Regions from separate parts of the Homo sapiens genome. Here all the other regions are linked to region 1. The links are contacts of gene promoters, found by promoter capture Hi-C in blood cells and fetal thymus (Javierre and others, 2016). All regions are on one chromosome and are shown on one strand. The core of a region is centred on a gene start or on the middle of the fragment in contact, and the rest is flanking DNA. Distances in the headings are between cores, read along the strand shown. Region 1 holds the start of C1GALT1C1 (C1GALT1 specific chaperone 1). Region 2 overlaps CUL4B (cullin 4B). Region 3 overlaps CUL4B (cullin 4B).

Evidence for each region. Contacts are between HindIII fragments. The CHiCAGO score rates a contact against its expected background, and 5 or more counts as called.
Region 2: a fragment that was not itself captured here is called in contact with the fragment with the promoter of C1GALT1C1 in region 1 in 1 of 17 cell types (neutrophils); the score reaches 5.3 in neutrophils.
Region 3: a contact is called between a fragment that was not itself captured here and the fragment with the promoter of C1GALT1C1 in region 1, in 8 of 17 cell types (neutrophils, naive CD4 T cells, total B cells and 5 more). The highest score is 8.0, in neutrophils.

Annotation. Positions count from the first base shown.
Region 1 is chrX:120,628,652-120,631,400 of GRCh38, forward strand. It overlaps C1GALT1C1 (C1GALT1 specific chaperone 1), which reads right to left and starts at 1,403. Exons shown (of 2, transcript NM_001011551.3): 1 at 1,266-1,403. RefSeq lists an enhancer at 784-1,711 and a silencer at 1,371-1,640. The HindIII fragment of the contact is 14,165 bases long and covers 1-2,749 here.
Region 2 is chrX:120,525,691-120,528,439 of GRCh38, forward strand. It overlaps CUL4B (cullin 4B), which reads right to left. Exons shown (of 20, transcript NM_001079872.2): 20 at 1-1,166. The coding sequence ends at 1,071. Among named protein-coding and RNA genes, the nearest start is that of CUL4B, 34 kb to the right of the region's middle. The HindIII fragment of the contact is 3,448 bases long and covers 1-2,749 here.
Region 3 is chrX:120,545,809-120,548,557 of GRCh38, forward strand. It overlaps CUL4B (cullin 4B), which reads right to left. Exons shown (of 20, transcript NM_001079872.2): 3 at 1,328-1,431; 4 at 739-808. Among named protein-coding and RNA genes, the nearest start is that of CUL4B, 14 kb to the right of the region's middle. The HindIII fragment of the contact is 4,280 bases long and covers 1-2,749 here.

The DNA.
Region 1 (2,749 bases), core at 153-2,652:
TTCATACAAATGGGAAAAAAGTGGGATCTGTTGACCATAACTGATATTTTGCACCCAACAGCACCATATTGCTACAAGGAAACCACTCCTGTGGTTTTCTGCTAGAGGAAATGGAATTTTGACTTCTACCAGAAAGACAAGGTGTGGAATAGCTTGGCAGATGTAATTTCTGAGCGGTGGGTGGGGCAAGAGGCAGGAAGACTTTCCTGTGTCACTCACAGAACTTGGTCAATAAACACAGTTCCAAGAAGAGAAGTGACAGAAAACAAGCTCGGCATAATATTAGAATTGTCGGCTGTGTGCGGTGGCTCACGCCTGTAATCCCAGCACTTTGGGAGGCCGAGGCAGGTGGATCACCTGAGGTAGGGAGTTCAAGACCAGCCTGGCCAACATGGTGAGACCCTGTCTCGACTAAAAATACAAAAATTAGCCGGGCATGGTGGCATATGACTGTAATCCCAGCTACTCAGGAGGCTGAGGCAGGAGAATTGCTTGAACCCGGGAGGCGGAGGTTGCAGGCAGTGAGCCAAGATCGCACCACAGCACTCCGGCCTGGGCAACAAGAGCGAGACTCTGTTTCAAAAAAAAAAAAGAAAGAAAGAAAGAAAAAAGAAAAAGAATTGTCAGGTGCACTCTAAGATTAATTTATATAGGATTTTTGTATTTCATGTCACGCAGTTTTCATTATTTCTGGCCAATACATAATTCACATGTTTCTTTGCTCAATTATGGCATATGTGTCAGAATTCTTCCTGATGGTGATCCTACTCCTGGCTGCAAAAATAGTGATCAAAACTCAGTAAGTCTACACATTTTAAATAAAATAATTTGCAAAAATTATTCTAAGGAGATTTTTTCCCCATCACAGAGGCAAAAAATATAACACTAGGGATGCATATGATAGGATACTTTGTGCAGAAGGAAACAAAACTGCACACGAGCACAAATGAAACAGAAACTACCCCAATGGTTTTTAGATGAACCTTTTTGGGTGAAGGTAGTTGGGGTGAAGTACGGAAAACGAAGACGAAATAGGGAAGAGAAGTGAGAGGGAGGACATGGTAACCTCGATATCCCTCTGAGGGACCAAGAGAGCGCCCCCAGGAAGAAGACTCTCGGTCTCCTGTGCTGACAATCCTCCCGCTGCACCTGCCCAAGCATCCCGCGTGGAGCATGCTGGGAGAGGGCTGGGGCCCAGGCCTCCCCCAAGAGAGGGAGGGGAGTCAGGGTGCGCTTGGGGTGGGGGTCGAGGCCCCGCCACTCACCCGCGTCTAGAACGGCTTGGGGACAGGAAAGCGCAGCCGCGCACGGGTTTCCTCTCACGTTGGCGCACCACTCCGTTACGCTCCTGACCAGGCTGTTCTAGCTGCAGGCGGTGTTCTCTCGTTGGTCTCGCTAAAGGTGGGGAGCGCCAGGAAACGAGCGCCGCGAAGGCGGGGGTAGTGGGGCGGGGTAAAGGAGCCGGCGGCTGGGCGGAGCCGTCCGTTTGCCCGCCCGCGCAGGCGTCGGAAGGGCCGGCGCGCCCGCTGCGCGCACACTGCGTGCCCTTTCTCCCCGCCCCCTGCCGAGTTCAGAGACTTGCTATAGGCCTGCGTGACCCGGACGCTCTCCTTTACCCAACGGGCGTCCAGAGAAGAGGCCGTGCGTACGACTCGCTGACACCTCCCATTTCACCTTCCTGGCATGGAAATTGCGAGAGCGAGAGATTCTTGCTCCCGGTGTCGCTTTTTATCAGACCTCTTGATGGTTTCTCTGATGTACCCCTGCGTCCTTGAACCCTCATATTGCCCACCCCCCCAGTACTCCTGGGCTGAGACCAAAACGCAAGCCACTGAAATAGTCACGTAATTATGACACCAACGGTTTCCTATTATTACTGGAATGAGATCTGAAGCCCCACTGCCTGGAATCCAATCCTGTCTTCACCACACCTTTTGATATCCCAGGAAAGTTATTTCACCTCGCTGTGCCTCAGTTCCCTCATTTGTAAAGTACAGAAAATGTCACAGTAGTGCCTATTTCATAGAAAATTAGATGAGATAGTGCATATGACTCCCTTAGCAAAATTTCAAGCCTAGAGTAAGCATTTACTAAAAAGTACTGGCTGTTATTATTCACCCCAGTATTTCTAGTACTTAACCACAGTGCCAGCACGCAGTGGACAGTAAATATTAGTGGAATTAATGAATATTAGAACTACAGCTGAGGAACCAGGCCTAAAAAGGATAAGGAAATTTCAAAAGTCCACACAGCAAGTTAATGGCAGAGGTGGGACTGGAATCCAGGTCTCTTTTTTTTTTTTTTTTGAGACGGAGTTTCACTCTTGTTGCCCAGGCTGGAGTGCAATGGCACGATCTCGGCTCACTGCAACCTCTGCCTCCCGGGTTCAAGCGATTCTTCTACCTCAGCCTCCCTAGCAGCTGGGATTACAGACGCCCGCCACCACGCCCGGCTAATTTTTGTATTATTAGTAGAGACGGGGTTGGCCAGGCTGGTCTTGAATTCCTGACCTCAGGTGATCCACCCGCCTCGGCCTCCCAAAGTGCTGGGATTACAGGCTTGAGCCACTGCGCACGGCCCCCAGGTCTTCTAATTAAGAGTGCAGAGCTCTCTTTCCACGAAATATTTGATGTGTCTCTTTTTTTTTTTTTTTTTTTTGAGACCGAGTTTCGTTCTTTTTGCCCAGGCTGGAGTGCAATGGCGGGATCTCGGTTCACTGCAGCCTCTGCCTCCCGGGTTCAAGTGATTC
Region 2 (2,749 bases), core at 182-2,681, 100 kb before region 1:
AATGAAGATGACAGGAAAGGCTTATTTATCAACAAAGAGAAGAGTTGGGATGCTTCTAAAAAAAACTTTGGTAGAGAAAATAGGAATGCTAAATCCTAGGAAGCCTGTAACAATCTACAATTGGTCCAAGTTGAAGACAAAACTGTCCAAACAACATTTAAAGTCTAAAGTATGTTGAAAACTAGTTGCAAAGTTTTTGCTCCTGTAACAATTTACAAAACACGTTCATTTTGGTCTCTTTTGCAATTTTCTTATTGTATTCATTTTTAATATAAAGAGTTGGATTTTTCTCTTCTATGATGTTCCTCTAGTACAACTGATCATTAATTTTCTACTTTAGCTATTTTTATAAGTACTTGTTAATCAGCACAGTTAACTTGGGGCTAAGCCATATACACACATCCCATACTCATAAATGAAAATTTTTAGGATGTGAATATACAAGATATTATGTAAGCAACTGTCCCCCTACTTGAAAACTTGTTTCCAAATAATTTTTTTTAAAAAACATCCCTTTCAGTGTAACAGAACATCACCTAGTAAAATATCAATAGCTATGACAATTCATTTCTCTTTTCAAGGGAAATCACAAAACGGGTGAACAACCAAGTCAAGGGTGGTTTTTCTATTTGATAAATACATCCAGAACTCTGTACAGTAAATAAAGTTTGCATGCAGTTTAAGTATCTTTAAATGACATTTTAAGCAAATAAACCTTTTGCTTCATAATTAATGGTGTGTAAGAACCCTCCCCCCTTTTTAATAGCCACAGGGATCTCTTTCCCAGTTCCAAAGAGGAATTCATGAAGACCAGGTACGTTCTTAAGTGTTTTCTGCACATCATACTAAATAACATGCAAAGAGTTCAACAACATTCTTCTTAAAGGTAAGTATTACTCTTTAAAATGGGCATGTTAACCACTGAGAAAAAGTCCACTCAACTATTTCCATTAATTACACTGCTTCATTTGGTCATCGGTAGTAAAAAAGGAGTCAAATAATATTGAATCAACAGGTTAGTTTATCCACTGGCTACTGCATATGACACCAAATGCTGCAAGGCCAACATTCTATGCAATATAGTTGTACTGGTTTGGATTTTCTTTATCTCTTTCCATGTAGTCCCGGTCAATTAAAGATTCTATTCTCTTCTTAAGATCAGCAGGCTGTAAGAGAAGGCAAATTTTCAATGTAAAGTTCATTATCATTGGCTCAAGCCCATTTAGTTAATACCCCATTAAAAAGACAACAGTTTCGGCTCATGAATTTAATCTCCTTTTTTAAAATTTTTATTTATTTAAATCTCTTTTTTAGAGAAAAGTATCATGAAAATAAACCAGGTTAAAAAATGTTTTATACACGTTGAAGATTCTTTTTTTTTTTTTTTGAGACGGAGTCTCGCTCTGTCACCCAGGCTGGACTGCAGTGGCACCACTTTGGCTCACTGCAACCTCCACCTCCTGGGTTCAAGTGATTCTTCTGCCTCAGCTTCCCGAGTAGCTGGGACTAGACACAAGCCACCACGCCTGGCTAATTTTTGTATTTTTGGTAGAGATGGGGTGTCACCATATTGGCCAGGCTGGTCTTGAACTCCTGACCTCAGGTGATCCACCTGCCTCAGCCTCCCAAAGTGCTGGGATTACAGGGATGAGCCACCGTGCCCAGGTATGTTGAAGATTCTTTAACGCCAAAAGTGTTTTTGATTTTTGATTTTTTTTTGGAGCTTTTAATTTTTTTAATAGACAGGGTCTTGCTATGTCGCCCAGGCTGACCTTAAACTCTTGTTCTGGAGTAATCCCCCCAGCCTCAGCCTCCCAAAGTACTGGAATCCCAGTACTCACAGGTGTGAGCTACCATGCCTGGTCCTGACTTTTTCATTTTGGTATATTTGCATATACATAGTGAGATACCATGGAGATGGGACCCAAGTCTAAACACAAAATTCATCTATGTTTCATACATACCTTACATAGCCTGAAGATAATTTTATACCTTTTGTGCATGAAACAAAGTTTTGACTGCAACCTGTCAAATGAGGTAAAGTGTGGAATTTTCCACCTGTGGCATCATGTTGGCATTCAAAGTTTCCAATTTTAGAGCATTTCAGATTTTGGATTCTCATTAAAGGTGTTCAACCTGTACTATATACTATACATACATTAAACTGTCACATCCTTGTCATATTGTTACGGAATACTTTCTATTACTTTTCTATTTTAAAGAGGTCATGCCAGAAGCAGCTACCCTTCGCGTGGTTAAATACAAAAGACTACATTTATTGTAACTTCACATGAGCACTGTAAGGTAGTTTAAGGACACAGAATACTAGTTTTGTCAAGATAGTTCATGAAGCACACCTTTACTTTGGGCAAGAGTTAGTTGGCTTCATTTTTATAAATTAAGATTTAAAACGTACTGATGAAATCACTATTTAGACCGGGTGTGGTGGCTCATGCCTGTAATCCCAGCACTTTGGGAGGCTAAGATGGGTGGATCACCTGAGGTCAGAAGTTTGAGACCAGACTGGCTAACATGGCAAAACCCCATCTGTACTAAAAATACAAGAATTAGCCAGGTGTGGTGGTGGGCGCCTGTAGTCTCAGCTACCAGGGAGACTGAGGCAGGAGAATTGCTTGAACCCGGGAGGTGGAGGTTGTAGTGAAACGTGATCGCGCCACTGCACTCCAACCTGGGTGACAGAGCAAGAAGACTCCATCTCAAAAAAAAAAAAAATCACTATTTAAAAGAA
Region 3 (2,749 bases), core at 69-2,568, 83 kb before region 1:
CAGTGCTAGGGAATGAAGCTGCCTTACATTGCACATGTGAGGGTTTTTATTGGCAGGGGGTGGGGGTGGGGAGGGGTGATGGATTTTAAGATTTTAATCTGTAGAATATAAGGTATAAACCAGATTAAGAAAAATGGAAAAGGTTGTTATCTGAATAAACTAAAACACAGGACCATCAGGCACCTTCACAGGTAATCAAATAGTGGACAGGATAATCATCAAGAGAGAAAAAAAAATAAGAGTGACAGACGAAATGTAGCTTTTTAATGAATGAGATAAATACATTTTTGGTAAGTGTGACAAAAATAAAAATGAACCTAAGGTGCAAGACATTCTGAAATGCAGGTTTACCTGTAACTTGTGGTTTTAAAATAGAAAACTCAACCAAAACTAGTTTCCAATTCAGAAAAGGAACTTGGGAGGAAGAGTGGGAGGGGGGCGAGGGATAAAAGACTACAATGGTGCAATGTATACTGCTCTGGTGAAGGGTGCACCAAAATCTTACAAATCACCACTAAGGAACTTACTCATGTAACCAAATGTCACCTGTACCCCAATAACTTACGGGAAAATAAAAAATAAATAAATTTTTAAAAAAAGAAAAAAAAAGAAAAGGAATAGATATTGAAGCAATCTCCCTATTGCTAAGTTTTAAAAACTAACATTCCTGTATTTGAAGAAATGTTTTTAACTATTAATACAATGTTTAGCCGAAATACAATACTTTTTCCAGCTTACCATTTGTCTGCAATGGTTTTGCCAGCATCTATCAATCTTCTTTAAAAAAAGAACGCTATCCAATGAATCCCTGAAACATATGTTAAGGATATTTTAAAGCGTTTGGTACAAGTCATATGTGCCATGTGACAGAGAGCATATTAGTCTTAAACATGAATACCTTGCACACTAAGTGAAACTAAATGGCACTTGATTATGCACCAAAGTGCTATTTCCTAATTTGTAAAAGAAAAAAAAAACATAGTTTATACTAAAAAACACCTTTAAAAACAAGTCTTAGACATAACTGAACATCGTGTTTTCAGTTTACTATTTCCCTTAGGAGATTATTTTTCCTCAAGTGGAAATCTGATAGGGCAAAAAGGATAAAGACATAAGGACATCTTATTTACATGAATACCACACGTAGTCCTGGACACGAATTAAGGCTGAAAAGTCAAAATGTGTTTCTTTCTCGAGAAACACAAGGCACAAAAAATGACAAACCTACAAAATACAGGCATTCTACTTCAAGCTGGGTTAAACAGTGAGGGGTAGGGACAGAGAGGAAGACAAAACTATTCACGATTTTTTGTTTTAAAAAGGATATTCTCTGAATTGATGAATCTGTGCTTTGATGTGATCTTCGCAGATCTGTCTCAGCTGTTTGTACAAGTTTGCAGAAATCTTGTAAGAACAGAGATTTTCTACAGCCTGCAAGGTTAAAATACTTTCTTAAGGAGAGGATGAAGGATTTCTCAACTATTTACATCAGATTCTTATTAATTTGATATTTCTACCACATCAGCTTATTAAAAAGGGTTATTCATCCACTTAAGACACAAGGTAAAACAACAAAATATATCAATGTGGGTGGCAAACTTTCTCATAACCAATGCACTGTATCAAAAAAGAACAAATTACAGGTTTAGCATCTTTAATCTAAAAATCTGAAATCCAAAAAGCTCAAAAATCTGAAACTTTTTGAGTGCCAACATGCTGCTCAAAGAAAATCCTACTTGGGCTGGGTACAGTGGTTCATGCCTGTAATCCCAACATTTTGGGGGGCCAAGGTGAGAGGATTGCTTGATGCCAGGCTAGAACAGCCTAGGCAACTGTGATGGTTACTACTGAGTGTCAACTTGATTGGATTGAAGGATACAAAGTATTGATCCTGGGTGTGTCTGTGAGGGTGTTGCCAAAAGAGATTAACATTTGAGTCAGTGGGCTGGGGAAGGCAGATCCATCCTTAACCTGGTGGGCACAATCTAATCAGCTTCCAGTGAATATAAAGCAGGCCAAAAAAAGTGAAAAGGAGAGAAGGGCCTAGCCTCCCAGCCTACATCTTTCTCCCATGCTGGATGCTTCCTGCCCTCGAACATCAGACTCCAAGTTCTTCAGTTTTGGGAATCAACCTGGCTCTCCTTACTCCTCAGCTTGCAGACAGCCTATTGTGGGACCTTGTGATCGTGTAACTTAACACTTAATAAACTCCCCTTTATATATATCTCCTACTAGTTCTGTAGTTCTGTCCCTCTAAGAAAACCCTGACTAATACAGAAACAAAGCAAGACCCCATCTCTACAAAAAATTTAAAAATTAGCTGGGCCCAGTGGTGTGTACCTGTAGTTCCAGCTATTTAGGAGGCTGAGGCAGGAGGATCACTTGAGCCCAAGAGTTCAAGGTTGAAGTGAACCATGACTACGCCACTGCACTCTAGCCTGGGGACAAAGTGAGACCTTGTCTCAAAAATAAAAAAGCTGTCTTGTTTAAAATGTTAATCATTTTCACAAGCAGAGCTTCATTTTGGGTTTAAAAAAGAATTTCACCTGTTGTTTATGTATCAGATGGGTTGGGCAGTCCTACTACAATTGAATTAAAATTTACTTAAACGTTCTTGGATTTTCCTGAACAGAACAAAGCAGAAATTATTGCTAGTAGTATGATAATGAGTATGATATAATACCAAGGAATTTTCTCCAACATTTCAGTTTAAGAATAGTTAAATATAGATTTTAAAATCTGTGGCTGG